Regions from separate parts of the Homo sapiens genome. Here regions 1, 2, 3, 4, 5 and 7 are each linked to region 6. Evidence: promoter capture Hi-C in human tissues and cell types (Jung and others, 2019). All regions are on one chromosome and are shown on one strand. The core of a region is centred on a gene start or on the middle of the fragment in contact, and the rest is flanking DNA. Distances in the headings are between cores, read along the strand shown.

Evidence for each region. The method cuts DNA at HindIII sites, captures the fragments that hold promoters and counts their contacts. A contact is called where the count stands out against the background at its distance.
Region 1: a contact is called between a fragment that was not itself captured here and the fragment with the promoter of ZNF808 in region 6, in 1 of the 25 tissues and cell types used here (adrenal gland).
Region 2: a contact is called between a fragment that was not itself captured here and the fragment with the promoter of ZNF808 in region 6, in 3 of the 25 tissues and cell types used here (H1 embryonic stem cells, lymphoblastoid cells and mesendoderm cells).
Region 3: a fragment that was not itself captured here is called in contact with the fragment with the promoter of ZNF808 in region 6 in 6 of the 25 tissues and cell types used here (aorta, bladder, dorsolateral prefrontal cortex and 3 more).
Region 4: a fragment that was not itself captured here is called in contact with the fragment with the promoter of ZNF808 in region 6 in 1 of the 25 tissues and cell types used here (dorsolateral prefrontal cortex).
Region 5: the fragment with the promoter of ZNF600 here is called in contact with the fragment with the promoter of ZNF808 in region 6 in 1 of the 25 tissues and cell types used here (mesenchymal stem cells).
Region 7: a contact is called between a fragment that was not itself captured here and the fragment with the promoter of ZNF808 in region 6, in 1 of the 25 tissues and cell types used here (spleen).

Annotation. Positions count from the first base shown.
Region 1 is chr19:52,105,474-52,108,173 of GRCh38, forward strand. No RefSeq gene overlaps it. Among named protein-coding and RNA genes, the nearest start is that of ZNF841, 11 kb to the left of the region's middle. The HindIII fragment of the contact is 6,263 bases long and covers 1-2,700 here.
Region 2 is chr19:52,968,266-52,970,965 of GRCh38, forward strand. It overlaps the pseudogene ZNF702P. Among named protein-coding and RNA genes, the nearest start is that of ZNF816-ZNF321P, 6.7 kb to the left of the region's middle. The HindIII fragment of the contact is 4,137 bases long and covers 1-2,700 here.
Region 3 is chr19:52,839,510-52,842,209 of GRCh38, forward strand. ZNF468 (zinc finger protein 468) reads right to left here. Exons shown (of 4, transcript NM_001008801.2): 4 at 1-2,642. The coding sequence ends at 1,216. Among named protein-coding and RNA genes, the nearest start is that of ZNF468, 17 kb to the right of the region's middle. The HindIII fragment of the contact is 4,505 bases long and covers 1-2,700 here.
Region 4 is chr19:52,019,452-52,022,151 of GRCh38, forward strand. All of the region lies in intron 2 of ZNF614 (zinc finger protein 614), which reads right to left. It overlaps LOC124904755 (a long non-coding RNA gene), which reads left to right. Exons shown (of 2, transcript XR_007067321.1): 2 at 1,800-2,700. Among named protein-coding and RNA genes, the nearest start is that of ZNF614, 7.6 kb to the right of the region's middle. The HindIII fragment of the contact is 3,065 bases long and covers 1-2,700 here.
Region 5 is chr19:52,785,532-52,788,231 of GRCh38, forward strand. It overlaps ZNF600 (zinc finger protein 600), which reads right to left and starts at 1,260. Exons shown (of 6, transcript NM_001321866.4): 1 at 1,064-1,260. RefSeq lists enhancers at 220-1,078, 1,079-1,936 and a silencer at 1,269-1,418. The HindIII fragment of the contact is 28,786 bases long and covers 1-2,700 here.
Region 6 is chr19:52,526,286-52,528,985 of GRCh38, forward strand. ZNF808 (zinc finger protein 808) reads left to right here and starts at 1,383. Exons shown (of 5, transcript NM_001039886.4): 1 at 1,383-1,426. RefSeq lists enhancers at 2-828, 829-1,656. The HindIII fragment of the contact is 14,459 bases long and covers 1-2,700 here.
Region 7 is chr19:52,863,856-52,866,555 of GRCh38, forward strand. It overlaps a transcript of ZNF320 not described here. Among named protein-coding and RNA genes, the nearest start is that of ZNF468, 7.6 kb to the left of the region's middle. The HindIII fragment of the contact is 8,657 bases long and covers 1-2,700 here.

The sequences.
Region 1 (2,700 bases), core at 60-2,559, 420 kb before region 6:
GGATCCTCTTCAAAAGTTGGTTTATAATCAGCTACAGGAATTTGATAGGTGCTCTGGAATGCAAGTTTCTGATAACTTTGGAAAATGTGACATTAGAATAGAGGAATAGAGGAAAGAACTTTCAAAACTTTCATGGATAACTAAAATGTTCATGAATATCAAACACAACACACATTAACTGCATGGACTGAACTAATAGGAGTCTAAAGTAATCTTTCTGATTTTTTCTTTTGATCCTTTGTTTTGTTTTGCAGAGTCAAGGAAACTTTTCTTTTGAGCTATTGACAGCAATTTTTTTTTTTTTTGAGACAGTTGCCCAGGCTGGAGTGCAATGGCATGATCTGGGTTCACTGCAGCCCCTGCCTCCCAGCCTCCCAGGTTCAAGCGATTCTCCTGCCTCAGCCTCCCAAGTAGCTGGGATTACAGGCACCCACCATCATGCCCAGGTAATTTTTGTAGAGACGGGGTTTCACCATGTTGGCCAGGCTGATCTCGAACTCCTGACCTAAGGTGATCCGCCCACCTTGCCTCCCAAAGTGCTGGGATTATAGGCATGAGCCACCGTGCCCAGCCGACAGCATTTAACAATTGAGGAAAGTATACTGCTGTGAAGAAAATTTGGAACATATTTGTTTCTCTCTACCTGCTTTCTCCAGAATTTGGAAACTATTTCTGAGTATTCTTTTTTTTTTTTTTTTTTTTTTTTGAGATGGAGTCTCACTCTGTTGCCAGGCTGGAATGCAGTGGCACGATCTTGGCTCACTGCAACCTCTGCCTCCCGAGGTCAAGCGATTCTCCTGCCTCAGCCTCCTGAGTAGCTGGGACTACAGGCATGTGCCAACACACCCAGCTAATTTTTGTATTTTTAGTAGAGACGGGGTTTCACCATGTTGGCCAGGATGGTCTTGATCTCTTGACCTCGTGATCTGCCTGCCTCAGCCTCCCAAAGTGCTGGGATTACAGGCGTGAGCCATGGCGCCCAGCTTACGTTTTTCAATTTTTATGATTTTCCACAGTTTGGACTGAATTCTAATTTTTTCCAGCTACATGTCTCTGAAATAATGTTTTCAATTTTTTCTTCTTTCTTTTCTTTTTTCCCCCATATTTTCTAATTTGAAATCACTGAAAACTAAACTGTATTTTCTTGAAGCCCTGATAACTGAAGCTAGACAACTTAAACTTCAGAAGAAAATAACAGCAACCTATTCACATACATAAGCCACTTTCATACCTATCTACTGATGTATGGACTTCAGAGTAATATGGCCTGTATCTATTTTCCAGGATTATTCTTTGTTTTTCTTCCTTCCTCCTGCTATTTTCTCTTCATAGGACACGACACTTTACAAACTGCTAAAAATGAGCTTTCCAAATAACATGGGACTTGCCCACCTGAAAATAAACTGTCCTAGCCATGAAGGATCAGATGAAACCTGATTTTTTTTTTTTTGAGACGGAGTCTCGTTCTGTCCCCAGGCTGGAGTGCAGTAACGTAATCTGGGCTCACTGCAACCTCTGCCTTGCAGGTTCAAGTGATTCTCCTGCCTCAGCCTCCTGAGTAGCTGGGACTACAGGCATGTGCCACTACGCCTGGCTAATTTTTGTATTTTTAGTAGAGATGGGGTTTCACCACGTTGGCCAGGATGGTCTCCATCTCTTGACCTCGTGATCCGCCCGCCTTGGCCTCCCAAAATGCTGAGATTACAGGCGTGAGCCACCGCACCCAGCCTCTCCCAAAGATTTTTAAAGGAGAAAAGGGGAAATGTGAAAGGAAAATAAATCTTGGCACCCAACACTCACTAAGCCAAAGGGAAAAGTCAAGCTGGGAACTGCTTAGGGCAAACATGCTTCCCATTCTATTCAAATCATCCCTCTGCTCACTGAGATAAATGTGTGTGATTGCTTCCTTTGAAAATGCTTACCAGAAACCCAAAAGAATGCAACCTTTGTCTTTTATCTACCCGATGACCTGGAAGCACCCTCCCTGCTTGGACTTACCCTGCCTTTCCAAACCAAACCAATGTGCATCTTACACATTAACTGATATCTCCTAAAAGTGTATAAAACCAAGCTGCGCCCCAACCACCTTGGGTATATGTGGCCAGGACCTCTTGAGGCTGTGTCACAGGCAAGCATCCTTAACTTTGGCAAATAAACTTGCAAAATTGACTGGAACAAAAGAAGTAATCTTCAGAGAAAATAAAAATAACAGGGAAAAACAGGGAGATTACATGATAAAAATGTCAACTTACAAAGATGATTTCAGAACCATCAGTGTGTATGCACTAAAAAACAGCTGCAAAACGTGAAGCAATAAGTGACAGAAGTGAAAGAAATACACAAATTTAGACTGAGCAAAGAGGATTATTAGGGTAGTCAAAGTACTCTGTATGTTACCATAATATGTGAATATGTGCCATTTTACAGTTGTCCAAACCCACACAATGTACAAGTGTGAGCCAACTATAAACTAGGGATGTTGGATGATAATCTACCACTTTGGTGGAGGATGTTGACAATGGGGAAGGCTATGCATATGTGGGGGAAGGAGCTATATGAGAAATCTCTGTACCTTCCACTGAATTTTGCTGGGAACCAAAAATTGCTCTACAAAGTAAAGTATATCATAGAAAAAAAATTGAATTAGAAAATAGGTTAAAAATATGAGAAATTTCACCGATGCAGATGCACAAATAGGCA
Region 2 (2,700 bases), core at 200-2,699, 440 kb after region 6:
TTATATTTTTTGTAGATGACATGATCTTCTGTGTAGAAAATCACAAAGAGTCAACCAAAATACTACTGTGACTAATAAACACATCAGTAGATTTGCACAATACAATATCAGCACCAAAAATTCGTTGAATTTTCATACATTAACAATAAACAATTTTAAATGAAAATTTAAAAACACTTCCATTTGCTAGAGAACTTAAAGTAAGAAATAGGAATAAATGGAAAGAAGTGAGAAATTCATACATTGAAATCTACAAACATTGATCAAAATGATTAAAAACATATATAAAGATATAACCCATATTGATGTTTTGGAAAAATTAATACTGTTAAATGATTACATAACCCAATGTGATTTTGATTCAACACAATACCCATAAAAATCTCTATCAGTTTTTGTTGAAGAAACAAAAAACAGACTGGGAAAGGTGCTCACCTCTGTTGGCCAGGCTGCTCTCAAACTCCTGATCTCAAGTGATCTACCTGTCTTGGCCTCCCAAAGTGCTGGGATTACAGGTGTGAGCCACCGCACCTGGCCTAATCCTCTTAACATAAACACTTTAATCTCAACAAATACTTGAACTCAATGTTAAGTCAACTCAAACTGAACTCAATGCTGATTTGAATCTAACATCAATTGTGCTTGATGGTTTGCTATACTCATTGCATTTGAAATTATTACCTCAAAAATGAATTTCCTGATGTCCTGCAAGGAGTGACCTCAGACTAAAGATCTTGCCACACATATGACTTTTGTAAGATCTCTGTCTAGTATGGATTCTCTGATGTGTAATGAGGCATGAACCTGAAATAAAGGCTTTGACACAATCATCACCCTTGTGAGGTTTCTTTCTTGTATGAATTCACCTGTGTTTTGCATAAGATGAAGCTTGACTGAAGACCTTGCCACAATCATCACATTTGTAAGGTTTCTCTCCAGTATGAGTTCGCTGATAAACTGCAAGGTATGAACGAAGTCTGAAAAATTTGCCACATTTATAACACTTGTAAGTTCTCACTTCATTATGCATTCTCCAATAATTTGCAATGGTTGTAGCATTACTGAGGACTTTGTGACAATCATTACATTAGTAAAGTTTCCCTATGACATGGATTGCTTGATGGTGAATAAGTGTTGACTGACCACTGAAGGCTCTGTCACACTCATCACACTTGCACGGTTTCTCTCCAGTGTGAATTCTAGTATGTTGTGCCAGGTGTGAATCACACCCGAATGCCTTGTCACAAACCTTACATTTCTATGGTTTCTCTCCAGTATGAACTCTCCTATGTATTTCAAGGCGTGAATTGAAATTGAAAACTTTGTCACATTCTTCACATTTGTAAGGTTTTTCTCCGATATGAACTCTATGATGATGTTCAAGGTTTGATTTTCAATTAAAAACCTTGCCACATTCATTACACTTGTAAGGTTTCTCTCCAGTATGAAGTCTATGATGACATGCAAGGTTTGATTTGTGATTAAAAACCTTGCCACATTCATTACACTTGTAACATTTCTCTCCAGTATGAATGACCTTATGCATTACAAGAGATGAATTTTGAACAAAGGTCTTGCCACACTCATTACACTTGTAAGGTTTCTCTCCAGTGTGAATTACAATATGTTGTGCCAGGTGTGAATCACGTCTGAAAGCCTTGTCACAAACCTTACATTTGTACGGTTTCTCTCCAGTATGAATTCTCCTATGTCTTTCAAGGTGTGATTAGCGACTAAAAACTTTGTCACATTCTTCACATTTGTAAGGTTTCTCTCCAGTATGAAGTCTATGATGACTTGCAAGATATGCTTTTTGATTAAAAACCTTGCCACATTCATTACACTTGTGAGGTTTCTCTCCAGTATGAATTGCCTTGTGAATTACAAGGGATGACTTGTAACTGAAGGTCTTGCCACACTGATTACACTTGTAAGGTTTCTCACCAGTGTGACATCTATGATGGTATGCAAGGTATCGCTTCTGATTAAAGACCTTGCCACATATATCACATTTATATTTTTTCTCTCCTAAATGGATTATCTGACATTTTTTTAACAGTGAGCTACAATTAAAGGCTTTGCCACTCTCATTACATTGGAAAGATTTTTCTCTCATGTGTGCTTCCTGGAGGAAATTATTCCCATACTTATTAGAAATATGGGTTTTAGGAATACAAGAAATTCTTTGGGATGCTGAAACTGAGGAAGCATCATTGACAGACTTCTCATCTTGACTATCAATTTTCCCTTTGCTCTGCAATATATGCAGTTCAGGCAGATGTGAATGAAAGCTTGATCCAAGCTGATCTTTAATAGGTTTGTTTCCAGCATGCCTTTGATCATATCAGTCTGTATTACCTGTCAACTTTTTTATCTCTGTCATGAGTGCTTCATGGCCATTTCTTTCATCTTCTTGCCACTGAAACTCAAAGTCCTGAAAATCTTTCTCAATTTCCTGGAAGGAAAAATCTCCAGTGTGATGACTTGCTTGTCTTTGCAATGTCCCTGTGTGGAACACTTCTGTATTGCCTTGCCTTCTTGATGAGAACTTCCTTGTCATGCATTTGGAAGAGATAGCTACAAAATATAAACAACAATAGGTTTCCAATTAAGTGCAGATGGTAAATAATACTGAAATATGTAACTAGGACACAAAAAACAATATTTATTTTGAAATTCCCAAACATGATTTTCAAAGTT
Region 3 (2,700 bases), core at 1-2,500, 310 kb after region 6:
TGGTTTGCTATACTCACTGCATTTGAAACAACTGTCTCCAAAAGGAATTGTCTGATGGTCTGCAAGGAGTGACCTTGGACTGAAGACCCTTCCACACTGATGACATTTGTAAGATTTCTGTCCAGCATGGATTCTCTGATGTCTAATGAGGTGTGAATGTGAAGTAAACGCTTTGCCACAATCATCACACTTGTGAGGTTTCTCTCCTGTATGAATCCTCCTATGTTTTGCATAGGATGAAGCTTGACTGAAGACCTTGCCTCAATCATGACATTTATAAGGTTTCTCTCCAGCATGAGTTCACCAGTGAAATGCAAGGCATGAACGATGTCTGAAAAATTTGCCACATTTATTACACTTGTAAGATCTCTTCACTGTGGATTCTCCAATGATGTGCAATGGTTGTAGCATTACTGAAAACTTTGTGACAATCATTACATTAGTCAAGTTTCCCTATACCATGGATTGCTTGATGGTGAATAAGTGGTGACTGCCCACTAAAGGGTTTGCCACACTCATTGCACTTGTAAGGTTTCTCTCCAGTGTGAATTCTAGTATGGGGTGCCACGTGTGAATCATTCCCGAAAGCCTTGTCACAAACCTTACATTTCTATGGCTTTTCTCCAGTGTGAATTCTCCTATGTATTTGAAGCTGGATTTGTGAATGAAAACTTTGTCACATTGTTCACGTTTGTAAGATTTCTATGCAGTATGAAGTCTATGATGACTTGCAAGGTGTGATTGTTGATTAAAAACCATGTCACATTCATTGTGCTTGTAAGGTTTCTCTCCACTATGAATTACAAGGTGTGAATTTTGACCTTTTAATTACAAGGTGTGAATTTTGACCAACGGTCTTGCCACACTCATTACACTTATAATGAGTTTCTCTCCAGTGTGAATTCTAGTATGTTTTGCCAGATATGCATTATATGCAAAAACCTTGTCACAAACCTTACCTCTGTATGGTTTCTCTTCAATGTGAATTTTCTTATGTGTTTTAAGGTTTGATTTACAACTGAAAACTTTTGTCACATTCCTCCCATTTGTAAGGTTTCTCTCCAGTATGAAGTCTATGGTGATGTGCAAAGGTTGCTTTTTGATTAAAAACCTTGCCACATTCATTATGCTTGTAAGGTTTCTCTCCAGTATGAATTGCCTTATGACTTACAGGGTTGAATTGTGATGGAAGGTCTTGCCACACTCATTACACTATTAAGGCTTCTCTCCACTATGAAGCCTATGATGGTATACAAGGGATGACATCTGACTGAAGGTCTTGCCACACTCATTACACTTGTAAGGTTTCTCTCCAGTATGAAGCCTACGATGGATTATAAGCGATGATGTCTGACCGAAGGTCTTGCCACACTCATTACACTTGTAAGGTTTCTCTCCAGTATGAACTCTCTGATGTTGTGCCAGGTGTGAATCCCTCTGGAAAGCCTTGTCACAAACCTTACATTTGTATGGTTTCTCTCCAGTATGAATCCTCCTGTGTCTTTCCAGGTTTGATTTGCGACTGAAAACTTTGCAACATTCTTCACATTTGTAAGGTTTCTCTCCACTATGAATCCTCCTATGTCTTTCAAGGTGTGATTTGCGACTGAAAACTTTGTCACACTCTTCACATTTGTAAGGTTTCTCTCCAGTATGAAGTCTATGATGGCGTGCAAGGGTTGATAGTCGATTAAAAACTTTGCCACATTCATTACATGTGTAAGGTTTCTCTCCAGTGTGAAGTATAGTATGTTTTGCCAGATATGAATTATATGCGAAAGCCTCATCACAAACCTTACATTTGTATGGTTTCTCTCCAGTATGAATCCTCTTATGTCTTTCAAGGTGTGATTTGCGACTGAAAACTTTGTCACATTCTTCACATTCATAAGGTTTCTCTCCAGTATGAAGCGCTTTGTGAATGAAGAGGGATGAATTATGACCAAAGGTCTTGCCACACTCATTACACTTGTAAGGTTTCTCACCAGTGTGACATCTACGATGGCAGGCAAGGTATCGCTTCTGATTAAAGACCTTGCCACATACATCACATTTACATTGTTTCTCTTCTAAGTGAATTATCTGATGTTTTTTTAAGAGTGAGCTGCAATTAAAGGATTTGAAGCTCTGTATACATTCAAAAGATTTTTCTCTCATGTGTACTTCCCATTTTTGTGTGAGTAATGAAGAATGGAGGGAATTATTTCCATACTTATTAGAAATATGGGTTTTGGGCCTACAACAAATTCTTTGGGATGTTGAAACTGAGGAAGCATTGTTGATAGACTTCTCAACTTGATTACCAATTTTCCCTTCAGACTGAAATATGTGCGGTTCAGGCAGATGCAAATGAAAGCTTGATCCAAGCTGATCTTTAATACGCTTGTTTCCAGCATGCCTTTGATCATGTTGGCCTGTACTACCAGCCAACTCTTTGATTTCTGTCATGGGTGCTGCATGGCCATTTGTTTCATCTTCTTTCCACTGAAACTCGAAGCCATGAATGTCTTTCTCAATTTCATGGAAACAAAATTCTCCAATGTGATGACTTGCTTGTCTGTGCAATGTCCCTGTGTGGATCACTTCTGTATTGCCTTGCCCTGTTGACGACAACGTCTTCAACATGCATTTGGAAGAGATATCTACAAAATTTAAACACCAATAGGTTTCCAATTAAGTACAGACGGTATATAATACTGA
Region 4 (2,700 bases), core at 85-2,584, 510 kb before region 6:
ATCTCAAATTCAGAAATCCCAACAAGTTCAGAGCAGGAAGTCACAACTGGTGTGACACATCAGACTGAAACTACCATACATCAAATGCAAAGGGAAAACTATAGAATCATCAAGAGACAAAAGACAGATTACCTACAAAGAAATAACAAAATATACTGATGGCTGACATTTCAATAATAGAATCCAGAAACGTATGGAATACAATCTTCAAAGTCCTAATTCTTGCAACAAAAAAGGCCAATTTTGGAAGGCCATTTGGGATTAAAACACATGGCTAGCAGATGACTTGCTGTCTTACAACCATGATATCAAGGACCTGTTTGTCAACTAAACTGTCATTCTCCTGCTTCACAATAACTTTTCAGAGAACTGCAGAGTGTGAAGTAGAGGTAACTAAGATCCAAGGAAATACTGATAAGAGAATCTATGCTATATTACTGTGTGGGATGCTGCATAGTCAAGAAAGTAGACTCATGAGAGTGCGCAAGTGCTCAAGCCTGGTCAGTTTATCTCATTCCAAAATCTTTATGTGAGATGTCTATCGACTGGGTAAGTGTAAAGTTAAATTTCTACCTCACTCCACAGTCCAAAAGAATTTATTACTGGATGGAAATCTTGCAGGCCAACTCTAAGGTGTCCTCTGATAATCTCATTCTCTAGCTGCAGTGACTTCTGACATCAACTACCTGGGTTAGGCCAAACTTCCCAGGTTAAAAGCACAATCCTCCACAAGACTGCCCTCACTTCAGACACAAGCTGCAAGCTTAAGGCTACACAGACCACCCTCAACTCCAGCGAGCTGGCTACAAATGTGTGGAGCTACCATGACTCCCTCAGGTTTAATAACTTGATAGAACAACTCAGAGAACCCAAGAAAGTGCTGTGTTTACAATTAGCACTTTACTATTGCAAAATGACACAAATCAGAATCAGCTAAAGGAAAATATGCACAGGGTGAGGTCTGGGAAGGTTCCAAACACAAAGCTGCTGACTGTCCTCTCCTCATGGAATCCTTGGTGGCATTACATCTTCCTGACTACATTGTGTAACAATATTCAAGAGTACTTGCCAGCCAGCGAGGCGCACCTAAACTTTGATGTCCAGAGATTTTATTGAGACTTCATGATGTAGGCACAGTTTATTGAAGCATTGCCCATGTAGCTGAGTTCAGTCTCCAGTTCCCTCCCCTTCCTGACTGGTATTACATGGCTCAAAGCCACAACTCTCTAATCACTTAGTGCGCTTTTTGGCATGGGCAGCCCCTATCCAGAGTCATGTCATTGCCATAAATTATCTAGGGATCTACTATGAGTCACCACTATACATATAGATATAAACTATCAAATATGAGTGGCCCACCATGAATGACAGAGACACTCATAACTTGGGTAATTACAAGGGTTTAGAGGTTACCTCCCAGGAACGAAAACAAAGGCTAGCCAAATTCTTTATTACACTCTAGGTGTTCCTGCCCCTGTGCAGTACCATCCTCCTGAGTATGAAGTGGCCTAAAAGCTTGTTTCTAAAGAAAAGAATACAGCAAAAGTGACAAGATGCCACTTTAAGATTACACTCTATATGACTTCCATCTTGCTAGCAGAATCTGTCATTTTCTAGCTTTGATTAAACAATTTGGCACATAGGGGAGGTGCATGTGACAAAAAACTAAAAGTGGGCTTTGACAAACAGACAGGTAGAAACTGAGGACCTCAACTAAACTACCTCATTTCTCATTCTGGAAATGAATCCTCCCAACAACCACATAAGTGAGCTTAGAACTGCATCTTTCCCCATTTCAGCCTTCAGATCAGATTCCAACCCAGCTAACACCTTGACGACAACCCCCATGAGAGACTGTGAATCAAAGTAGCCAGGTAAGCCATGCCCTTATTCCTGAGCCACAGAAAGTGTGAGATTTTTTTTTTTAAGTGTTGTTTCAAGTCACTACCTTTTGGAGTAATTTCTTAGGTATTAATAGACAATGAATATAAGATGTAAACTTAAGAAGAACTTATGAGGCCAGGAGTGGGGCACACATCTGTAATTACAGTACTTCCAGAGGAGAGTTTGAGCCCAGGAGTTTGAGACCAACCTGAGCAACATAGTGAGACTCTGTCTCTATTCTCTACAAAGAACAAAAAATTAGCTGGGTGTGGTAGTGGATGCCTGTGGTCTCAGCTATTCAGGAGGCTAAGGCAGGCAGATGGTGGTTGAGGCTGCAGTGAGCCATAATTGTGCTACTGCACTCCATCCTGGGGAAGAGGGCGAGTCCCTGTCTCAAATAAAGAAAAAAAAAAAAGGAATAAATGAAAACATGTTCATGATATAAGTAAAAAGCTTTAAAAAAAATGACTTCTGCATGGGAAAAAATATTTTGAACAAGCTAAAAGAGAAGTAAGACTCTAGAAAAATATTTGCAACATATAAAAGAATCAATATCCAGTCAAGATAAACAATTATAAATCAGTAAGACCACAAAAAAATTAAATGAACAAAGACTAAAGACACTTTATGACAGAATAAATAATCCAAAGAAACAACAAAGAGATGAGAAGGATCTGAACCTCACTGGTGAATGGGAAAATGCAAAATAAGGCAAAATAATACTGGATCATCTAGATCATGGAAAATACACAATTTGATAACATAGTAAGTGTTGGCAAGATTTGCAGCACTGAATGTTTTTGTGCAGTGTTTTCC
Region 5 (2,700 bases), core at 10-2,509, 260 kb after region 6:
ACCCACAGCGCCCGGTCCTTATTTAACCTCTTGTTGTTCTTTCTCCCCAATCTTTCAATCTTCCTCAATGTCTATATATTACAGCCTCTTCTCTTATCTCTCCGTCTCCTCTGCTCTCCCTATTAAATTCTCTCTTCCCTGTTATACCCCTCTGTCCCCACTCTCCAGCACCTCAGATCCCCAGGTGTCCTCCCTGCTGTGGTTCTCCATCTGTTCTTGCCACCAGCACCACTCTGCTCTGTCTGCCCTGGCTCCAAATCCCTCCTCCTCTCCCTCACTCTGGTGAGCCTCCCTCTTTGCTGCCCCTCTCCCTACCTTGCTGTCCTTCATCTTTCTGTACATCTAGCTTTTCTCTACATTTCTCCAGTTGCTTTTCTCCTCCTGCTTTCTTAGTTTTTTTTCTTTCACTTTTGCTGTCTCTTGGCAAATTCCTAACCCATCCTCTACTTTGCCATCTGTTATGGGCCTTTCTCATTCTTCTTTTCTCTGTCTCTGGTTTTCTACTGCTCTCTCAGTCCCTCTCTCTATCTCCTGATCCCTTTGGCCCAGGCGGGTTTGGAGTAATCACAGGCGGGTTTGGAGTAAGACGCCTGCATCCCGTAGAAGCGCATTTTCCAGGGGGTGGAGCTGGACAGGAAAGAACACCTGGTATCATAGGACAAGCCCCTGCGACCCACCCCAACCCTGGCTCAGGGGAAGCGAAGACTTGGGGAGCAGCAGGGCCCGGCACCAGGAGGGACGTGGTGGGCGACGGCACCCTAAGACAAAGGTGGGACCTGCAGGATCCCAGGACCAGGCAGAGGACGCAGCCTCCCCGGGGCTGGGGCCGGGGCGCCGCGCTCCAGGTGCCAACTGGGGCGAGGCTGGGAGGCGCCCAGGGCTGGAATCCACCTCGCGGGTGAGGACTTTAAAAAGCACGGGGCGGGAATAGTCAGAAAAATGTTTTGAGCAGGAAAAATACGCGATAGGAAGTGTATACATTGCCCTATAGCAGAAAGACCGGGGACGGGACCAGCCTCCGAGCGACTTCAAACCCAAAAGCAAGCAACTTCCAGACTCTTACCGGGACGTCTCAATTTGCTCTGGGTGAAGGGAAGACAGGCGAGAATTTCCAGGTCCGTGGGGATCCCACGTCCCAGGGGCAGAAGCGCCGGGGACCTGGGAAGTGCAGACTTAATCCAAGGCAGAGCAAAACTCACGCGCCGTGGTAGGACCTTCACTCCACGCGATCCGCTTCCGGGTTTGTGCGCGCCCAGGACTGAAGCCAGGCCGGGGCAGGTTGGCTGGACCTGGGCGGGGTAGAGGCGGGGCCCCAGGCGGAGAGACCTTGCCCTTTAGAACCGGCAGAGGGAGGGCCCGGGGCGGGACCTGTGCTTCTCAGCCTCGCACTCAGCGCCTCTGTTTTTCGAGTTTTTGGAGGCGACAGCGGCCAGGAAGGCTGAGGCATGATTCAAAAGCCCTGGAATTATCTGGAACGGGAATGCAAACTAGAATGTGAAATGCAAAGCCCTGCCAGGGCGGAACATACGATTTCATGCTGATGGCCCACAGAACAGAACAGAAATCCTCTCCCTTTCTATTCTCCATTCACTCAGGAGGGAGGGTCCACCCCGTGCTCAGCTTCAAAGTGTTCCCTAGGGCCTCCGCCTGGGATGCGGGACGGAGAGCTCAGGCCAGGGAGGAGTGAGGTCACCACCTGCTGCCTAAACACAGCAGGGATGCGGGCACGAGGCGGAAGCCTGAGGTCCCAGCTACTCAGGAAGCAGCGGCGGGAGAATCCCTGAACCTGGGGGTCCAGGCCATCCTGGGCGACAAAGTAACACCCCCTAACTGCAGGGTCCTCTTCCTGATCTCTCTCTCGCTCTTTTACTTTTTTTTTTTTTTTTTTTTTTTGAGACGGAGTCTCGCTGTGTCGCCCAGGCTGGAGTGCAGTGGCACGATTTTGGCTCACTGCAAGCTCCGCCTCCCGGGTTCACGCCCTTCTCCTGCCTCAGCCTTTCGAGTAACTGGAACTACAGGAGCCCGCCTAACCCAAACAAAAACAAGACCGGGCGCGCTGGCTCACACCTGTAATCTCAGCACTTTGGGAGGCTGAGGCGGGCAGATCATGAGGTCAGGAGATCGAGACCATCCTGGCTAACACAGTGAAACCCCATCTCTACTAAAAAATACAAAAAAATTAGCCAAGCGTGGTGGTGGGTGCCTGTAATCCCAGCTACTAGGGAGGCTGAGACAGGAGAATGGAGTGAACCCGGGAGGCGGAGCGTGCAGTGAGCCAAGATCGTGCCACTGCACTCCAGCCTGGGCGACAGAGCGAGGCTACGTCTCAAAAAAAAAAAAGAAAAAGAAAAAGAAAAAGAAATATCTCCCCTAGTTTGTCTCCTTTTCCAGAATTTACCAGATACCAGTACACAGATACCAGTGCATACATTAATGTATGACTTTCATACATAGATTCTCTGATCTGATCCACAAAGAGCTAAATGTGCATCCAGATGTGGCCCCTGAACAATCCCTGCTGCCCAATATCACTGACACCTTGGGGTCCACACCCCATCTCCATCCATCTCTGGTGTGAGCCCTTCCCAGGACCATGCCCAGTGCAGCCTCTTCCCAAGCTCATGTCACTAGGTTATAGAAGATGGAATTTAAGTGAAGATGACAAGGACTGAGAAAAGGCATGGGTTAGTGTGAGCAAAC
Region 6 (2,700 bases), core at 133-2,632:
GCATGTTGGCTGACGCATGTAATCCCAGCATTTTGGGAGGCTGACACAGGCAAATAACTTAAAGTGAGGAGTTCGATACCGGCCAGGTCACCGTAGTGATACCCCGTCTCTATGAAAAATACAAAAATTAACCGGGCATCGTGGCACGCGCCTGTAATGCCAGCTGCTCCCGAGGCTGAGGCAGGAGAATCGCTTGAACCCAGGAGGCAGAGGCTGCATTGAGTTGAGATCTCGCCACTGCACTCCAGCCTGGGCAACAGAAATACTGTGTCTCAATAATAGTAATAATAATAATAATAATAATAAAGTAATAGATCTCTTCCACAAATGTGCTGGGACAACTAACTGGATATCCACATGGAAAAGAGTAATGTTGGATCCCTATGTCACACCATCAAAAATTTTATTTAAAAAAGTTTTTTTTTTTTTTTTAAAAAGGGAAAAGGCCCGGGCGCGGTGGCTCACGCCTGTAATCCCAGCACTTTGGGAGGCCGACGTGGGCGGATCACCTGAGGTCGGGAGTTCAGCCTGGCTAACATGGTGAAACCCTGTCTCTACTAAATATACAAAATTAACTGGGCATGGTGGCGCATGCCTGTAGTCCCAGCTACTCGGGAGGCTGAGGCCGGAGTATCGCTTGAAACCAGGAGGCGGAAGTTCTAGTGAGCTGGGATCACTCCACGGCACTCCAGCCTGGGCGACGGAGTGAGACTCTGTCTCCAAAAAAAAAAAAAGGGAAAGAGAGAGAGAGAGACTAGGAAGGGAGACCTGCCGCAGTGGGTGTTACTTTGTCGCCCAGGCTGGCTTGGGACCCCAGGCTCAGCAATTCTCTCCGTTGCTTCCTGAGTAGCTGGGACCTGAGGCTCCCGCCCCCGCGCCTCTGCTGTGTTTAAGCAGCAGGTGGTGACCTCACTCCTTCCTGGCCTAAGCACTCCGTCCCGCACCCCTGGCGGTGGCTTTAAGGAAGTCTCTGAAGCTGAGCTCAGGGTGGACTCTCCCTCCCTAGTGAATGGAGATAGAAAGGGAGAGGACATCTATTCTGTTCCGTGGGCCGTCACCATGACATCGTACATGCCGCCCAGGCAGGGCTTTGCATTTCACATTCTAGTTTGCATCCCGGTTCCAGACAATTCCAGGGCTTTGGAATCATGCCTCAGACTTTCTGGCGCTCTCGCCTCCACAACCTAAAAACAGAGACGCTAGGAGAGAGGCTGAAAGACGCGCAAGTCCCGCCCCGGCCCCGCCCCGGCCCCGCCCTCTGCCGGTTCTAAAGGGCAAGGTCTCAGCGCCTCGCGCCCCGCCGCTACCTCGCCCAGGCCCCGCCCACCTCCTCCCACCTCCCGCCCAGGCCTGGCTTCCGTCCTGCGCGCGGAGATTAACGCAAACCCGGAAGCGGATCGGGTGGAGTGAAGGTCACGTCGCCATGGTGAGTTTTGCTCTGTGTTGCATTAAGTCTCCGCTTCCCAGGTCCCCGCCGCTTCTGTCCCTGGGACGTGGGGTCCCCACAGACCTGGAAATTCTCGCCCGTCTTCCTTCGCCCAGAGCAAATTGAGACAGCCCAGTGAGAGGCCGGGTGTCGCTTCCTTTCGGGTTTAAAGTCGTCTGGAGGCTGGTCCCGTCCCGGGTCTGTCTGCTATAGGGCAATGTATACACTTTCTATTGCGTAGTTTTTCTGCTCAAAACCTTCTTCTGACTCTTCCCTCCTCGCGCTATTTAAAGTCTTCACCCACGAGGTGGATTCTTGCCCGGGGCGCACCTCCCAGCCACCCCTCGTCGGCCCCTGGAGCGTCGCGCCGCAGCCCCAGTCCCAGGGAGGCCGCGTCCTCTGCCTGGTCCTGGGATCTTGCAGACCCCATCCTTCTCCCAAGGCGCCGTCCCCCCTCCTCCCACCTCCCTACTCGTGCCAGAGCCTGCGGCTCCCCAGGTCTCTCCTCCGCAGTCACCGCTTCCATTGAACCCACACTGGGAAGGACGCAGGGCCCTGTCCTGTGACATGGGGTCTTCTTGCCTGCCGAGCTCCAGCCCTTGGAAAACGCGCTCCTCCGGGATGCAGGCGTCTTACTCCAAACCCTCCTGCGATTGTGTGGGCCGAAGGGATCAGGAGACAGACAGCAGTAGAAAACCTGAGACAGAGAAAGAATAAGAAAGGCCCATAACAGATGGCAAAATAGAGGATTGGTGAGGGATATGCCAAGATATGGTGAAAGTGGAAAAAGAAAGCAACAAAATACCTAGAAAAGCAGGTGGAGAAAAGCAACTGGAGAAATGTAGAGAAAAGCTAGATGTACACAGAGATGAAGGACGGCAAGGTAGGGAGAGTGGCAGCAAAGAGGGAGGCTCATCAGAGTGAGGGAGAGAGGGAGGGATTTGGAGCCAGGGCAGACAGAGCAGAGTGGTGCTGGTGTCAAGGAGAACCGAGGGAGAAACACAGCAGGGAGGACACCTGGGGATCTGGGGTGACACAGAGTGGGGACAGGGGAGTATATCAGGGAAGAGAGAATTTAACAGGGAGAGCAGAGGAGGCGCAGAGATGGGTGAAGAGGCAGAAATAGATGGAGATTGAGGACGATTGAAAGATTGGGGAGAAGGAGCAATAAGAGGTTAAATAAGTTGCGAGGATGGAGCAGAAGAGATGGAAGAGAAGGAATAGAGGGAAGAAGGGGGATAAACAGCAGAAGAGAAGAGGGGTACAAAATGAAG
Region 7 (2,700 bases), core at 22-2,521, 340 kb after region 6:
CCCTATCTCCACTAAAGATACAAAATAACATGCTGGGCATGGTGGCACGTGCCTGGAATCCCAGCTGTGTACATCAAAAGCACGTATGGGGCAAAATCACAAAAGAGAATACAAAACCAGGAAAAGCCAAGATACACAAGGACAGATTCTTCATGTCTGGAGGAACATTTTCCTCACCCACAGACTCCAGGTTCCTGTAGTTCTCCCACATCACAGCCCTGTATAAAGCGTTCTGTGCAGGGTCCAGGCGTTTCCACTCCAGCAAAGAGAACTCTATAGCCACATCTCTGAAAGTCAAGTATCCCTAAAATGAGAAACACGTTTAAATAAAACATTATGGAGGCGTTATCACCTTCACACGAAATGAGAAATGGGAAATTAAGTATCGATTGGGCCAAAGAATATGTTCTGACAAACCCGTATTAAGGTATTTTTGAACATCTTTTCTCTATCGTTGCATTTTATTGTACTTTTCCATGAGAGATTTCAAGATCCCCTAAGTAAAAAATTTACAAATAAAAACTAAATATAGTGTTTTCTCTATAAATACGTTAGATATTATGTTCAGCCTAACACTTGATATTCATTATCTGGATGAGCTAAAATACAAGTGCAGTCTCAGAGATGACAAAGTCCAGTGGCCTAAAGAAAAGAAAGTCAGGGCCAGCCATAGTGGCTCAAGCGTGTAATCCCAGCACGTTGAGAAGTGGAGGGAGGCAGATCACAAGGTCAAGAGTTTGAGATCAGCCTGAACAACATGGTGAAAACTCCTCTTCTCCCAGGAGGCAGAGGATGCAGTGAGCCAAGATAACATCAGTGCACTATAGCTGGAGCAACAGAGAGACACTCCATCTCAATAAAATAAAAATAAAAATTGGCCAGGTGCGGTGGCTCACGCTTTCAATCTCAGCACTTTGGGAGGCCGAGGCAGGCAGATCATGATGTCAGGAGATCGAGACCATCCTGGCTAACACAGTGAAATCCCGTCTCTACTAAAAGTACAAAAAATTAGCCAGGCGTGGTGGCAGGCACCTGTAGTCCCAGCTACTCAGGAGGCTGAGGCAGAAGAATGGTGTGAACCTGGGAGGTAGAGCTTGCAGTGAGCCGAGATCGGGCCACTACACGCCAGCCTGGGTGATAGAGCGAGACTCCTTCTCAAAAATAAAAAATAAAATTTTTAAAAAGGTGGGGCACAGTGGCTCATGCCTGCAATCCTGGCACTTTGGGAGGCAGAGGTGGGCAGATCACCTGAGGTCAGGAGTTGGAGACCAGCCTGGTCAAAGTGATGAAACAACGTCGCTACTAAAAATACAAAAATGAGCTGGGTGTGGTCGTGGGCACCTGTAATCCCAGCTACTGGGGAGCCTGAGGCAGAAGAATCGCTTGAACCCAGAAGGCAGAGGTTGCAGCAAGCTGAGATCGTGCTACTGGACTCCAGACTGGGTGAGAAGAACGGTACCCCATTTCAAATATATATATATGGTCTGGAGGGACATTTTCCTCACCCACAGACTCCAGGTTCCTGTAGTTCTCCCAAATCACGGCCCTGTATAAAGCGTTCTGTGCAGGGTCCAGGCTTTATATATATATATATATGTAATACATATATATATATTACATATATATATAATACATATATATTATACATATATATTTATATATTATACATATATATTTATATATGATTATACATATATATTTATATGATCATACATATATATTTATATGATTATACATATATTTATATATGAGATTATACATATATATTTATATATGATTATACATATATATTTATATATGATTATACATATATATTATATGATTATACATATATATTATACATATATTTATATATGATTATACACATATTTATATATATGATTATACACATATATTTATATATATGATTATACACATATATTTATATATATGATTATACACATATATTTATATATATGATTATACACATATATTTATATATGATTATACACATATATTTATATATTATACATATATATTTATATATTATACATATATTTATATATATGATTATACACATATATTTATATATGATTATACACATATATTTATATATTATACATATATATTTATATATTATACATATATTTATATATATGATTATACATATATATTTATATATTATACATATTTATATATATGATTATACATATATATGATTATACATATATTTATATATATGATTATACATATATTTATATATGTATGATTATACATATATTTATATATGTATGATTATACATATATTTATATATGTATGATTATACATATATTTATATATATGATTATACATATATTTATATATATGATTATACATATATTTATATATATGATTATACATATATATATATATAAAATCATAAGGCTGGATGCAGTTACTCATGCGCTGGGTGCAGTGACTCATGCCTGTAATCCCAGCAATCTGGGAGGCCGAGGTGGGCAGATCACCTGAGGTCAGAACTGTGAAACCCCTCCTGCAGGAACCCTCCACATACATGTAGTGAAGTCAACACACTCAGAGGCAGCCAGGGTGGCATTCTTGGTAACGGTGAAAAACTGGGAAGGACTCACACGTCTTCATTCAGAAAATGCTCCAAGGAGGATGAAAAACAGCAAACTATCTTGTTTCCTACCTTGAAAATGTGGAACATTTTAACACTT